Linked DNA regions of Homo sapiens: region 1 is linked to region 2. The links are contacts of gene promoters, found by promoter capture Hi-C in blood cells and fetal thymus (Javierre and others, 2016). All regions are on one chromosome and are shown on one strand. Each heading gives the region's core, a stretch centred on a gene start or on the middle of the fragment in contact. The rest is flanking DNA. Distances are from core to core; before and after follow the strand shown. Region 1 holds the start of MBNL3 (muscleblind like splicing regulator 3). Region 2 holds the start of STAG2 (STAG2 cohesin complex component).

The links. The method cuts DNA at HindIII sites, captures the fragments that hold promoters and counts their contacts. A CHiCAGO score of 5 or more calls a contact.
Region 1: the fragment with the promoter of MBNL3 here is called in contact with a fragment that was not itself captured in region 2 in 1 of 17 cell types (naive CD8 T cells); the score reaches 5.2 in naive CD8 T cells.

The regions. Positions count from the first base shown.
Region 1 is chrX:132,487,233-132,490,516 of GRCh38, forward strand. It overlaps MBNL3 (muscleblind like splicing regulator 3), which reads right to left and starts at 1,806. Exons shown (of 9, transcript NM_001386889.1): 1 at 1,619-1,806. RefSeq lists a silencer at 2,085-2,654. The HindIII fragment of the contact is 7,236 bases long and covers 1,121-3,284 here.
Region 2 is chrX:123,960,683-123,964,293 of GRCh38, forward strand. STAG2 (STAG2 cohesin complex component) reads left to right here and starts at 1,024. Exons shown (of 35, transcript NM_001042750.2): 1 at 1,024-1,174. STAG2-AS1 (STAG2 antisense RNA 1) reads right to left here and starts at 659. Exons shown (of 2, transcript NR_130770.1): 1 at 507-659. RefSeq lists enhancers at 604-653, 2,082-2,181, 2,272-2,531 and a silencer at 974-1,113. The HindIII fragment of the contact is 2,082 bases long and covers 210-2,291 here.

The DNA of each region.
Region 1 (3,284 bases), core at 556-3,055, 8.5 Mb after region 2:
GAACTGGGATCTAAGTCCATAATCACTAAAAATGGGAGAAGTTGCTTTTTCTCATCCTCCCTTTACCAAAATGCAAGTGTTTATTGCTCTACCTGCAGGAACTCTCATTTTAGACATGAAGCAATGAATTGCCCCACATACTTCTTTCAAGAATAATATGAAAAACTGCTGAAAATTTGTTGTATAGTAATTCCATTGTAAACAGTTTGGTTGTTTGTTTCTAGGTAGACTACAGCACCTGGGCAGAAAACTGCACCATGCTTTAATAAGGGCAAAACAATATTTTTCTCCCTTTCCACACACTTGCTAAATTTAGTAGCAGAGCGTCTGCCAACCAAGTAGTTTCTACTGCTTTGGGAGAAGGAGTGAACAGCGATAGAATATTATCAGCTGAGCTGTGGGCAGAAGCCCATTTTAGTCTATATTTGAAGAAGTGTTGGTAAATATGAAAGCATCCCCCAAAAGTATCGCACATTAGAAAAAAGTTAAAAATTATTTTAAAAAGTAGTTAAACATTCAGGATTAGATTTTCATGGGCCAAGGAGAAGATGGAAATATAATCAGGAAAAATCCAAGGTGTCTGATAAGCCTCATTGTCTATTTACCTTTCACTGGAGGGGGAAACAAAACAAAACAAAATTCAGATAAATTGTATCAAGCATGGATGTTTAGTCATTCCCACATACCAACAATCTGTTTTCCAAACATTATATCAGTAATCACCCAAACGTTTATTCACTAAAGCAGGGAGTCCGCTTAATAAAAAAAGTACCAATCACTTCAAAATTAAATCTTGCAAGTTTTGTTTTAATTGATTCTTTCCCATGAAGTCTACCCACAAATACGGAGAGGCTGTGGGGATCCCAGCTCAATTTACAAACGATGTAAGAACATCTAGGAGAAAATAACTCCTTTAAAACATATTACTTTAATTAGAGCCACAATTAATTTATCTGTTTTATCTATCATCTAGCTAGCTAGCTAGCTAGCTAGCTATCTAAGAGTGCTCAGAAAAACACACAGTAGGTCTATTACCCTAATTATGAAACCACAACAAAGAATCACTTAAATGTCAACTTTCATTACTCGTCTGGGTTTAATTTCGTTTTCTTACCATAAAAGCTTATTGTGTGAGTGTTAAAAACTAAAGTTCCCTTTTTAATAGTCTCCTAAAATCTACTCTCATGCCCTTCAAACCCCAGTAGTAAAAGCGAGCTGCCCAAACGTGTTGACTCAGGGCAGGAAGAGACAAGGTTCTGCAAGGAAGCTGTGGCACTGCTCACGATATCGCGTGAAAATGGGGAAATTCGTTGTTAAAAAGCATTTGCTGATTATATGCCATGCAAGAAGTTCCTTTAAATTAAAAAGAAGAAAGTAGAAAAAAAGAAAGAAGGAAGGAAGGGGAGGAGGAAGAGAAGAGGAGGAAGAGAAGGAAGAAGAAAAAGGAGGAGGAGGAAAGGAGGAGGAAAATGATCAAAGCTCTAAAATCGCAACAAAGTTGCAGGATGACTTTTCCTCCTATTTGCTATTTTGTAAAATGAAGTTTAAAAGGCATTATTTCCTCGGCGTCCGAGGAAGGCAGCCTCTCTTACAAATCCCAATTCATCTCCAGCCTTACCTTACGCTGCTAGCGCAAACCCAGAGGCTAAGGGGCCCTGCTCTCAGCGGCAGCAGCAGGGGCAGCGGCAGCGACAGCGGCACATGCCATCTGTTAGCGGCAGAAGCAAAAGCAGCGCTGCGCGAGGTGGCCCCGGTGCCGGGAGAGCCTTTAGCAGGGGTGCATACTGAATGCCGCCATTTTAAAGCGAGGTTCCTGAAATCATTAGATATAAGCAAATTAAAGCCCGCCCCACCTCCAGAACTTCAGGGCTGGGACTTGCAACCCGGCTCCAAGTCGGCCGCTCTGGGGTATAAAATGTCAAGTCTACAGACACGCGCACGCTGACTCTCGGACGGAGGCGACGGTTCCCCCTCTCCCTTCGGCCCCCTTGACCCCTTCGTGCTTTTTGCAAGACTCCTTTCGGTTCCAGGGGCCAGAATACTTTCTTTTCTGGGCTCCTCGAGGCCCCTTCCCGGGGCCGGCCGGCGGGCTGTGGGAGGAGGGGACAAGGCCACGGGCCGGCCCTACCCGCTCCTCCCAGGCTCTTGGTTCAGTCCACTCGGAGCACACCTCGGAGCGCCCCAGCTCCCTCGCGGAGGCCGGGCGTGGGGCTCCCGCCCGGGCTCGCAGCTACCATAGCAACCCCGGTCCCAACCCCGCCCGGCCTTTGCCAAAGGCGTGCCCTCCTCCCGGGCCAGTGCCCTCCGCCGGACGCCAGACGTCCCCTCGCGCAGCCCCGCCGACCCCAGGCAGCCCGGGCTGGGGCCGCGCCTCCGTGCGTCCCGCGCCGGACAGACGCGGCACGCGGAGGGAAACGGCGCCAGCGAGGGGCTTTAGGCGCCAAAACGGAAACTCCCGCGAAACTCCGCGGGCCAGCGGAGCGCGGGCGGGCATCCGGAGCGCCGGACTCGGAAGCGGCGCACGCGGCCGCCCGGCCCCGCCCCGCCCGGCCAGGTAGCGCGGCGCCGCCGCCAACCTCACCTGGCTCCGCGCGCCGCTGCGGGACGGGCGGGAATGCGGCCAAGGGCCGCCCCGGCTCCCGCGCCCACCCCGGACTCTCTGGCCTCCGCCTCTCTCTCACTGCTCCCAAAGAGCGCCAAAAAGTCGCGCTGCGGCTCACGCTCGGAGTGCGGGCACTTTCTTCCTGTAGGGCGCTGTTTCGTCGCGAAATATATTCTTTGTGTGGTTCGCTCACTCGTGCCTGGTTCTCCGAGAGCGCAGCGCGGGCTTTATTCTCAGGGGGTGTGGCGCCTCGCCCCCAAACCCAGCAGCCCAGCCCCCGCTGCACAGACCCTTTGTCATTTCATTAGGAAGGGAAAGGGGGACAAATCATAACGCTCAGATTTTACAAAAGCGAAAACAAACGAAGCAGGCACACATCCCCAGAGGCGGGGTTGGGGTAGGGGTGCAAAGTTTCTGGCTCTTCAGGAACTGAAGTGCCAGTGAGAAAGGCAGTGTGGTTCACAGCGGGACGCTCATAGACACTTCCCAGACAGGTGAGGCGAAATGGGTCCTTTCAAAATTGATCTTAGTCGATGAATAAGTCCACTCGCTACAGGCTAAATAAATACATTCATACTCACCAGCTGCCTTCTTGGGGGTTTTATCTTTCATAAATGCCCCAATCGTTTATTTCCCTCTAAGAATTTCAGACAGGGAAATGCTGATCAGTGCAATCTGTTCC
Region 2 (3,611 bases), core at 1-2,500:
CCCCCCACCGCTCTAGAACCGCGGGAGCTTCCGTCCCTGAGTAGAATTCGAGGGTGTAAAGAAGAGGAAGGGGAAAAATATCTTGTACCAGCCCAGGGGTGAAGAAGCCCCCGGCCTGAGAAAGAAGGAGGAGTGGGGGAGGCGAACAGTCTCGTTGCTGCCTCTGTGTACGCTGAGGGGGGAGGTAAGTTATAAAATGGCGGAGGCGAAGCTTCTAGAAGTTTGGAGGGGCACCCGGAGGGCGCTTGGCCCACCGTGAGGTGTGTATGATTGAAACAGGGCGAGAGAGAGGAGTTGGGAGGGAAAGAGGTTGGGCACTCTGTTGCCATTGAATTTCCCCTCTGCTTTCTTCGCCCCCATGGGGGGCAGCCATGGAACGGGGGGCAGAGTCCAGGCGGGAGGATCTTTCTCGCCCCCGCGGCGCCCCCCGCCCTCCTTTCTCCCTTCTCCCCCCAAGTCGCTACCCCAACACTTCCAAGGAACTTCCAGCCCCCCTTCCTCCCTACCTCCTACTCCTAGAGTGGCTTTCTACCGCAGGGCTCTTCTTTTCGACTACCCTCGCTGAAGATTTTCTCTTCCTTCCCTCGCCCAACTCTCCCTCGGGGCCTCTACGGAGACCCCCCCCCCCCATGGGTGGCCCAAAATGGAGAACGCGGAGCAGCGCAAGATGGAGGCTCCGCTTCTCTGTGTAGCAGTAGATTTAGGTTCCTTTTCTCCGGCAGGCTCCTAAGCCTAGGAGAGCCCGAACTGGAGGTGGGGTGGGGTGCGAGCCGTAGTCGGGGGAGGAAAGCCGGGAGGCTGTGGTTGGGGTGGGGGAGAGCGCGGTGTCGCGGTGAGGGGAAGGCAGAGAGCAAAATGGTGGTGCTGGGAACCTAGGGGGGAGGGGAGAAAGGAGGCTCAGTTGTGTATATTTGGGCCTCGGACCGAGGGAGGCGAGGGAAAATCTACTCTGATCACACCCCTCCCTCGTGCCCCCTCCCTTCTCCCTTCCCCTCCTCCCTTCCCTCCCTCCCCCCTCCCTCCCTCTCTTCCTCCCTTCCTAGAGAGGGAACAACATTCATGTGACGGGCCCCTCTGCTTCTCCCCCGCCCCATCATCTCCAGCGCGTGGTGGGGGAACTGCTGGGGAAGGCGATTGGCATCGATCTCTCCATCCCTTCCGAGGCCCGACTTCGGTCAGTTTTCTTCGGGCAACAATTTTCTAAATTGGCTGGGGTCTGGCGGTGTTGGCCCCCGCGCGCAGACCTTGCCCCGAAGGGGGCCCTGCCTGCCTGGCATGGGCGGAGGGGGGAAGGGCGGGAGTGGAAGGCTGTTTGTTGGGGGGTTTTGGCGCCACTTTTGTTTTAGTTTTAGTGCTGCTTTTCATTCCCACCCCCACCCGCACTGTCTTTCTCAAGGCACGAACTGAGCTGATCCTTGCCCCAGGTAGGCAGCCTGTGCGTTTTCACTCCACACTTTTATTCTTGCTCGGGGTCGACTTTCTTTTTTCTTCTCCCCTGGATCCGGAGATCTGCGGACGGCGATTTTGGGACGAAAAGGGTCGGATGGGCCGTGGGAGAGAGAAGGTGTGGGAAACAGCATCAAGTAGTTCCGCAAAACTTTGAGCCCCGTTCCCATTTTCTTTTGGCCTAGAATTGTGAACGTATTGTTGATTTCGGCCTTTTTTTCCCCCCGTCGCGAGAATGTCTTGTTTTGCCTTTAGTTTTTTATAAACCGCTGTACTTTCGACATTTAGTTTCCGCTCCCCCTTGGTGCATATGTCATTTTATTTTTAATCCTTAACTGTAATGGGTTATCGTGTGATTTTCGTGCTTCAGTGCTCGGCTTTAATTTTTAATATTGTATTAGTAGTTTCATCCGGTTTGTGAGACTTTCTCTTCCGTGGCCTAGAATGTTTTTTATGTTGTTGCCTACCACCCCTCTTCCCTCTCCCTCCTTCTTTCTCTTGGATGTAGTTTTTAAATTGAGGGCCATGGTGTTGGATTAAATGGTAATTTACAGTTTACATGATATATCTATTGGAAACTTTTGATCTGTAAGGTTAGATTTAAAGTAAACGAGGCGCTTGTGTTGGTTTGCAATGGTTCCTTAAAATGCGCGGGCCACCCCCTTCTCCCACCATAAAGCCCCATCTTCCCTTCACACTGGAGTGTAAATTCCATACCCCTTTTCTCCCACGGACCGCCGTATTTCGCAGCAGCCACACCCTGTATTTGTCTCTGTGGATTGGACTCATTATCAGCTTAATTTAGTGACTCTTAAACCACCATGATGGGACTTGCTTAAGCACGAAGCTTCTTTTCCTGTTTAGTCCTAGTGGTTAGTGTCGAAAGAGGAATCATCGAGGTTTCTTGATGAAACCTAGTGCGGTCCAACCTCTGCCTTTTTTTCTGTTGTCTTTTTTCCTACTCCGGGCTGTTGGCGGTGTCAGCACCGCTGCTGGGGGCGGGGGTGGAGGGGAGAAAGAGTCGGGTTACCGAAGTGCGTCATTCCTGGCTCTAGCAGGGCCTGCTCGGGAGCTGCTGGTGTTTGTTACTGTCCTCGCAGCACTTTTCTGCCAACCTTCTCTCTCTGCGTATTGGTTAGGAGCAAAAGCAGGAGGCGGTCTCCTAATTCTGTCTGTAGCCTAGCGCGTTGCGTTTAAGGGTATATCTGAACTTATTTTGTTAAAAAAAAGGCTCTGGGAAGTGGATGCATTTGTTTAATGACATATAATTCAGGTAGTTTAGGCTTGCTCTCATATACTTTCCGATGAACAGTGGGGTTAATTTTCAACATTTTCAACCACTTAACGTTAAAATGCCTGGTTTTCTTTCTACATTGATATCAATCTATAATTAGGGATCAGAAGGACCAGTTTAAGGTATATAAGTGTTCAGCAGTTTTTCAAGTGGTTGAATTGCAGTTTTATGACACATTATGTTAAATAGTCGATTTTTTTTTTTCATTTTGAACTAAGGTGCCACGTTAAGTAAGTTAATTGCAGATGTTTAAGTTCGTTTTCATCACATTTCCCTATTTGTCTTTTTAGGTATAATTTTAAATATGCCCTTTGGGTTTATGGACTTCATTAAAATTCTTAAAGATGGTTATATCTTTGTGTTTAACTGAATTCTTAAATTTATCACCTACCAAAGAATTGTGTAAGGCGTAAGGCGGCTGTATAGTTACATTGTTGGATTTTGACTTAACATGCTAGTTTTTGATACTTTTGCTATCTTTGGGTAGAAGTGTACTTAGAGAACATAGTATCTTCCTCTTAATTCTTTTTGAAGATAATAATGAGAGGAGGGAGTGGGTAGGAGGTAGGTGTGAAGCAGAAGTGGCCTTGAGTTGATTATTGTAGCTGGATGAATACAGAAGCGCTCATTGTTACTATTATTCTCTCTACTTTTGTGCGTGCTGTTAAACATTTCCATAGTTTAAGATAAACTTTTTTTGCAGTAGAATTTCCAGATTGTCTTACAGTCTTGGGGGTAATGACTTAAGTTTATATTTACATGTCAAAATTACTTGCATAGGAAATTTAGCCTTGTGTAAGTGATTACACAATGCTTGGCAAAACTTTCAAAAAAAAAAAAACGTTTAAACGGGAACTAGTATAAAACAGGC